Regions from separate parts of the Homo sapiens genome. Here region 1 is linked to region 2. Evidence: promoter capture Hi-C in 16 types of primary human blood cells and fetal thymus (Javierre and others, 2016). All regions are on one chromosome and are shown on one strand. The core of a region is centred on a gene start or on the middle of the fragment in contact, and the rest is flanking DNA. Distances in the headings are between cores, read along the strand shown.

Region 1 (4,155 bases), core at 1,051-3,550, 830 kb after region 2:
AAAAACTCTTATGGAGAGGAACCCACAGATTCCCATAGCAGTCCATTCTACTTTTACTCAGCTCTGACTGTTAGAAAGTGCTCCCTTGGAGGCTGAGGCAGGAGAATCACTTGAACCTGGGAGTCAAAGGTTGCAGTGAGCCAGAATCGCACCACCGCACTCCAGCCTGACGACAGAGAGACTCCATCTCAAAAAAAAAAAGAAAAGAAAAAAAGAAAGAAAGTGCTCCCTTGGGCCGGGCGCGGTGGCTCACGCCTGTAATCCCAGCACTTTGGGAGGCCGAGGTGGGCGGATCACGAGGTCAGGAGATCGAGACCATCCTGGCTAACACAGTGAAACCCTGTCTCTACTAAAAATACAAAAAAAATTAGCCGGGCGTGGTGGTAGGTGCCTGTAGTCCCAGCTGCTTGGGAGGCTGAGGCAGGAGAATGGCGTGAACTCGGGAGGCGGGGCTTGCAGTGAGCCGAGATCGCGCCACTGCACTCCAGCCTGGGTAACAGCGAGACTCCATCTCAAAAAAAAAAAAAGAAAAAGAAAAAAGAAAGTGCTCCCTTGGGTTAATTCCTTTTTTTTTTTTTTTTTTTTTGAGACCAAGTCTCGCTCTGTCGCCCAGGCTGGAGTGCAATGACGCGATCTCAGCTCACTGTAATCTCTGCCTCTTGGGTTCAAGCAATTCTCCTGCCTCAGCCTCCCGAAAAGCTGGGACTACAGGCACGTGGCACCACACCTGGCTAATTTTTTGTGTTTTTAGTAGAGACAAGGTTTCACTGTGTTGGCCAGGCTGGTCTCAAACTCCTGACTTCAGGTGATCCACCCGCCTCGACCTCCCAAAGTGCCGGGATTACAGGTGTGAGCCACCGCACCCGGCCTCCCTTGGGTTATTTCCTAATTCATAATCATTGCTTATGTGGAAGGAACTATAATCAGCTATATCTCCTCTTGCTAAGAAAAGGAATTATTCCTGTATCTTGTCCTGGCATCCACGTGTCCTCACGGTCTCTTATGATGTGACTCAACAGAAGTTGCGGGCATTTTTTTTCAGACCTAGAAGTTGACAGTTTACCAAACAGGTATTCTGTTTCCTGGCACCAAGTCAGAAATATGTTCCCAGGTTAGTTAAAAGGTGTCGAGGTGTTCGATTTCAGGCGTCTAGCTGATGCTCAGCCCATGCAATTAGGAGCCCGGCCAGAGCAAGTAAATCTTTTAGGCTCTTGGATGATGAGTCACGAATTCCATATAAGGCCCAACTTCCAGCCCCTGGCACTGAGGATGATCATAAGTGTTTGATCCTCTTGAGGCAGTTGCATTTTTACAGGGAGTTCTAACAAAAATAGATTACTCCACCCTGATTATGAGGAAATGCTTTGCTTAAGAAGCAGAAGTAGAGAGGGGGTGGAAAGGCTTGATGGCTGAAAGAAAACACTTGTTTGAAGTTTTCTTTTTCTTTTTCTTTTTTTTTTTGAGAAGGAGTTTCCCTCTTGTCACCCAGGTTGGAGTACAGTGGCGCTATTTTGGCTCACTGCAAACTCCGCTTCCTGGGTTCAAGTGATTCTCCTGCCTCAGCCTCCCGAGTAGCTGGAATTACAGGCACCCGCCAGCACACCCAGCTAATTTTTGTATTTTTGGTAGAGATGGGGTTTTACCATGTTGGCCAGGCTGGTCTTGAACTCCTGACCTCAGGTGATCCACCTGCCTCGGCCTCTCAAAGTGCTGGGATTACAGGCGTGAGCCCGGCCTAAAGTTTTCAAATGTAAAATAATTTTGCTAGAAGACAAACAATGGTTACGAAATTTTTATGGGAAACTTTTTTTTTTTGAGATAGGTTCTCGGTCTGTCATCCAGGCTGATGCGATCACATCTCACTGCAGCCTTGATAACCCAGGCTCAAAGGATCCTCCTGCCTCAGCCTCCCGAGTAGCTGGGACTACAAACACATGCCACCACATCTGGCTAATTTTTTTTTCTTATTTTTTTGTAAAGACAGGGTCTTGCTATGTTGCCAAGGCTGTTCTCAAACTCCTGGGCTCAAGCAATCCTCCTGCCTCAGCCTTCCAAAGTGCTGGAATTACACCTGTGAGACTCCATGCCCAGCTAGGAAACTATTTTGAATTTAGCATTCCCTACCCACTCAGATTATCGATCAAATGTGAAGCAATCAAAGAGACACTATTAAGATGTGCACAGGAGAACTTGGAAGATGTATTCCACAAGTACTCACCATGAAAAAGATGCTCAGGAACTACTTTGACAAAACAAAAGAGGAATTAAAGAAAGGGAAAGAAATTGGATAAAAAAAAAAAAAAAAAGAAGGACTGGCTGGGCACGGTGGCTCACTCCTGTAATCCCAGCGCTTTGGGAGGCCAAGGTGGGTGGATCACCTGAGGTCAGGAGTTTGAGACCAGCCTGGACAACATGGCGAAACCCTGTCTCTACTAAAAATACAAAAAATTAGCCGGGTGTGGTGGTGCATGCCTGTAGTCCCAGCTACTCAGAAGGCTGAGGCAGAAGAATTGCTTGAACCCAGGAGGCGGAGGTTGCAGTGAGCCAAGATCACACCAGTGTACTCCAGCTTGGGTGACAGAGCAAGACTCTGTCTCAAAAAACATATAAATAATTAATTAATTAAATTTTTAAAAGAAGGATTGTCAAGTCTCACCCAGAAGATGTGGCATGTAATGTTGGGGGTGGGCGGTGCAGGAGAGATAGGGGCCGGGGGAAGGAGGGCGGGGAAGGGGGCCGCAAGCTGGAGCTGTCAAGCGGCAAAATTCTAAAGCCAGAAGACTGAATTTCTGTTTTTATGGGTCCATACCTGTCCATTTGAGGAGTCCTTTCTTGAATAACTCAAAGCTCTTTGAAAATATTTATCTCCCTTGATCCTGGTCTCTGATCCGTCTTATCTTCCATAGCTACTGAGTCACCTAAGTATCCACAATGGTGTTTCTACTGGGAGTTGACACCTGCAATTTCCAGCCCCTGGCCTAGCAGTTTCCCAAGGGGTCTGTCTCTGATCATCTTATAGGGGATTTCCTACTGCAGGGAAGAGAGAAGTGCTGAGTTCAAAGTTTTTGAGACTGTGGTGACTGATTTTCTGAGCCAAAAGTCAGGACACAAGACGAGACTGACAAGTAAGAATGGACTTTCCTGAATCAAAGGGAGAGACTTTAAAACCAGACAGCCCTTGCAAATTCAGGGTGTATGGCTACCTTGATTGTCCTCAGGGACCTGAGGGACAGAGACAACAAAGTGGAAGCCCCCACCTGTGGGGCCCCCTCACCTGGGCAGGGTGAAGGCACACGGTGCTGTAACAGGCTCATAACTGGGCACTCCCTGAAACCCATAGTCTTTAGGGATTTCTTCGCTGATTCTGCAGATAAGAGCCTGAGACAGACGGGGCACAGGTCTGATAACTCAGCCTTTTTTGTCCCTAACAATTTAGCTCCAACTCCACACTATGTGCCCCACTTAGCGAACAAGTTCTTCAGATGGAAGGCAGTTGAGCAGCTTGGAGTTGTCACTCTGGTATGTCCTCACAAGTAGGGTGGGTGGGGAGTGGGGTGTCTTACCTCCATCTTAAGTCACTTATCAAAGTATTTCTTCCTACCACTTGGAACAGTCTATCTGATTTTTCATTTTATTATTTTTCTTTTTTTTTTTTTTTTTGTATAGACAGGGGCTCACTACATTGCCCAGGCTGGTCTTGAATTCCTGGCCTCAAACAAGCCTCCCACCTCGGCCTCCCAAAGTGTTGGGATTACAGGCATGAGCCACCATGTCCAGCCTAGTCTAACTGATTTAAAAACACACACGCACACACACATTTTAATTGACAGATAATAGCTGTACATATTTACAGGGTAGATAGTGATGTTGCAATATACATAATGTACAGTGATCAGGTCAGGGTAATTCCTATATCCACAATTGCTGGAAAAGGAGGAGAGACCCAAGAGACCAGTCTTTTGGACTTGAGTTTTTGAAAATATATATTTAATTTTAAAAACTTGCAAAACAGGCCAGGCACGGTGGCTCACGCCTGTAATCCCAGCACTTTGGGAGGCCGAGGCTGGCAGATCACCTGAGGTCAGGAGTTAGAGACCACCCTGGCCAACATGGTGAAATCCCATCTCTACTAAAAATACAAAATTAGCTAGGCAT
Region 2 (3,994 bases), core at 40-2,539:
TCCAGTTGCCCTCGAGAATAAAGTTTGGTTTTCCGGGGGTGGGTGGGGGGGTGGGGGGGTGGAGGTTAGGTTAGTTATATTCCTAGCATAATATGCAACCTAAAGGTTAGTTTATAAAAAAAGAAGCTGTTACTTTTATTGTGTTGTACGTAATATATAAAGAACGCCTAAAATTGGCCCAGTGGAAAAACAGATGAATTATGCCAGGACTTAAATCAATGATCGTCCTCTGTCTACAGGTCACATTTAAACTTGCCTTGTCCACTCCAGGGCAATCCCTGGCCTTGGGGTCTGCCCTGGGACTTCTCCAGCCCCCGCCCCAAAACTGGGCCTGTCCTGGGAGGCAGCCTGGCACCACTAACTCTTCTCTCCCTGGGTCAAAAGAGCAAGGTGGGTTCTTCTGTTCACACAGCCTGCACCTTGCTAACCAGATCCAAAGGCTTCTGAGGTCCTCACATTGCCTTACTTTTCTATGCTTTCATTTTCCATTTCATCCTTACAAACAGTTCCTTGGTGTACATTTCCATACAACAGTTTTCCTGCTGGTGGAGGCCAGGTCGGAACCTGGGTTTCATTTTCTTTGAGCGATGTTTACTTCCTGTAGCTTATGCATTTCGATGGCAAAAACAATTCCTTTGGGGTTCTCGGCCTCATCAAATATTCTCTCTATATAGAGTGTACACACTCTCCTAGACACAGCAGTCTATGTGGATTCCCACCGACCCTGGGCACCTCATTCAGCTCGGGTAGTGGTCCCATGTCTCCCACAGGCGTGTCTGTAACCACCTCCTTATGGCGAGGAACTGGCTGCGGAATCCTTCCCAGCCTGCGGGAGGACGTCACCTCCAAGTCTCTGGGTGACTTGTAGAGGGGTTACCTGCGGCCAAGAGGCCGGCCCTGGACCCTTCTTGGGCCCACCCTGTGTTCACTACCCACCCTCTCCCACCAGGTCAGGACCCGCCGAGGCTTGGGGATCCTCCCAGGGCAGCCGTCTCGCGGGAGGGCCGCCCCACCCCTCGCCACCCTCACCCCGACAGGCTCCGGGCCGCGGGGCAGGGCGGCGGGTACCGTTTTCAGGCCGCGGAAGCGCCCGCCGGGAAGGAGCCGCCGCCCCCTCGCCCACCGCTGCAGCCCCCTGCCCTGGCTCACCTGCCGCCCGGCTTGGCTTCGCTCAGGGTCACTGTTTCCTCGGCATCGTGCCGCCTGGAGAGAACTCCCGACCGGGATGGGACGCTGACCAGGGAACCTGCCGGCGGGCGGCGGCGGTGGCGGAGGGGGCAGCCGGGACTGGGGTGCCTAGGGCTGATGCGCGGCCTGGCGACCCCGCCCAGCGCGGCTCAGCTGACAGCCAGCCGCTCCCTGCCCGCGCCGGGGAATTTCCCGGGCCCCGCCCATCCCATACCCCGCCCATCCCCCCCACCCTGCCCATTCCATACCCCACCCGACCAAGGCCCCGCCCCTCCTCTTTCCTGCGTCCGCCCCCAGCTACCCACCCTCGCTGTCCGTGCGGGGTCGAGGCTGGGACCCGGGTGAACAGGGACTGCTCTAAGGCGTCACTGTGACGGCGTTAATCAAAATAAATCATTAATCAAATGCAGTGTGCGGAGTTCGTCTTCCCCGTGTCTTCCCGCAGATCCCGTAGTGGAGGCTGGAGCCGCAGGGGGTCGCTGCCGCCCACAGAAAGAGGAGAATGCCAGGCATCCTCGGAGGGAGGCCTCCATCTGTGTTTTTTGAAAAAAGGTTAACATCTAGACATAGTTAACTGAGCATACATAGCTTTCCACTCGTTTTTGCTTTAAAATACACTCAAAAAGCAGAAAGCCTGCAGGATGCTTCTTGGGCTCTTGTTGCGGACGAATAGGCTCGGCTATTCTTGTTGCTGAAGAATAGCCTCTGCTGGTGTGGAGGAGGGAAGCTGCCCCCGGATTAGACAGCAGGATGACAAGGTAGGAGCGAGAGCCGCCCTATGTGCATCCAGAGTACCCGGGTAGCGCTGCAGGGATGGGAGGGAGGGAAGGAGGGAGGGGGAGAGAGAGAGAGAGGGAGGGACGGAGAGAGGGAGAGAGGGAGGGAGAGAGGGAGGGAGGGAGAGAGGGAGAGAAAAAAAACAAAACAACAACAACAAAACCTAATCTGAAACAGGAAAAAGGCAGATGCGCCCTCTCCTGGTATCTCCGAAGGATTCTGCTTCGCTGTCTGGACCTCCTGCTGCCTGGCCAAGCCTGACTCTCAACCCTGCCCCTGAGGCTAACCCCAAGAGCAGGGCAGAGAAGCAAGCAAGTCAGCGACTGCCCCAGACCCAATTCCGGGCCCTCGAGTTGGTGTGGTGTAGGAGGGGCAGATGAGGCTAGAGGCTGCTTTATAAGGAGTGAGCCTGGGGGTGGGAGTGGGGAGAAATAGAGAATTTAAAAAAATTCTTTTTATATCAGTGCAGGAGGGCCAGGCGCGGTGGCTCACGCCTGTAATCCCAGCACTTTGGGAGGCCAAGGCAGGCAGATCGCAAGGTCCGGAGTTCGAGACCAGCCTGGCCAATATGGTGAAAGCCTGTCTCTACTAAAAATACAAAAATTAGCCGGGCATGATGGTACTCTCCTGTAGTCCCAGCTACTCGGGAGGCTAAGGCAGAAGAATCGCTTGAACCCGGGAGGCAGAGCTTGCAGCGAGCCGAGATCATGCCACTGCACTCCAGCCTGGGTGACAGAGTGAGACTCCGTCTCAAAAAAAAAAAAAAAAAAAAAAAATCAGTGCAGGAAATAACTGATCATTCATGAAAAGGGCTTGGAAAAATATATACAGAGAGAAATGGAATGACGATCTCTAATTTTTGTTTATCTACTGGGATAATCCAGGCAGAAAAGACGGTGTCACAGCTGTACCCTGGGATCGGCAGAAAAGGGTCCCCCCGGGGCCTGTAAGGGGTGCCTGCGGTAAGTCGTACTTCACTAGGCTCCTTTTACTGTTTAAAACCCTATAGGTGGGGCACGGTGGCTCACACCTGTAATCCCAGCACTTTGGGAGGTCAAGGCAGGAGGATCGCTTGAGCCCAGGAGGGAGAGGCTGCAATGAGCTGTGATTGCAGCACTGCACTCCAGCTTGGGTGAGAGGGAGACTTTGTCTCAAGCAAAAACAAAAACGAGAACAAAACAACACTATGAAAGTGAATTAAAATGAGCATCAGTGAAACTCAGAGCCAAGAGAAGAAGGTCACCCACAAGCTGCCCATGGCTTTGGTGTGGGAGGCTCGAGGTGAGTTTCTGGTACAGAAAGCAGTCAAAGTTGTTTTCTCCTGATTCCTTGCTCTCAGTGGTGGGGTCGGGGTGGGGGGTGCCCTGAAGCACTGCACACACACATGCACACACACTCCCCCGACAACCACTTCTTAGCTGTAGGACCTTGACCAAGTTACTTCATCTTACCCTTCCTCATTCCCTTTATCTGTAAAATGGGGAGTATAGTACACTCCCAAATCCAGAAAGTTCTAAGGACCAAACCTCTTTTCTGACCAGACCCAACTGATGGAAAGCTATTTACAGTCTTTATTTAGATCCCTTGATGTGATTTTTAAATTTGTTTTGTGAAGGAAAATCGAATAGTTGATAGGAGAACTGCGTCAGACAGTGTCAGGGTGTTATGTGATATAAATCCCATTTATTGAATAGCCTTTTGAAAATCCCCAGAATTCTGGACTCTAAAGCAGAGCTTGCCCCAAAGGTTTTATTTTATTTTTTGAGGTGGAGTCTCACTCTGTTGCCCAGGCTGGAGTGCAGTGGCATAATCTCAGCTCACTGCAATCTCCACCTCCTGGGTTTGAGTGATTCTCCTGCCTCAGCCTCCCAAGTGGCTGGGATTACAGGCGTGTGCCACCACACCAAGCTAATTTTTGCATTTTTCGTATTGATGAGGTTTCGCCATGTTGACCAGCCTGGTATTGAACTCCTGACCTCGGGTGATCCACCTGCCTCGGCCTTCCAAAGTGCTGGGATTACATGTGTGA

What was found. The method cuts DNA at HindIII sites, captures the fragments that hold promoters and counts their contacts. A CHiCAGO score of 5 or more calls a contact.
Region 1: a fragment that was not itself captured here is called in contact with the fragment with the promoter of OPTN in region 2 in 5 of 17 cell types (endothelial precursors, erythroblasts, naive CD4 T cells and 2 more); the score reaches 6.8 in endothelial precursors.

What each region holds. Positions count from the first base shown.
Region 1 is chr10:12,268,161-12,272,315 of GRCh38, reverse strand. No RefSeq gene overlaps it. Among named protein-coding and RNA genes, the nearest start is that of CDC123, 74 kb to the right of the region's middle. The HindIII fragment of the contact is 6,579 bases long and covers 1-4,155 here.
Region 2 is chr10:13,097,458-13,101,451 of GRCh38, reverse strand. It overlaps OPTN (optineurin), which reads right to left and starts at 1,289. Exons shown (of 15, transcript NM_001008212.2): 1 at 1,150-1,289. It also overlaps a transcript of CCDC3 not described here. RefSeq lists an enhancer at 504-633 and silencers at 914-1,483, 1,954-2,013. The HindIII fragment of the contact is 12,315 bases long and covers 1-3,994 here.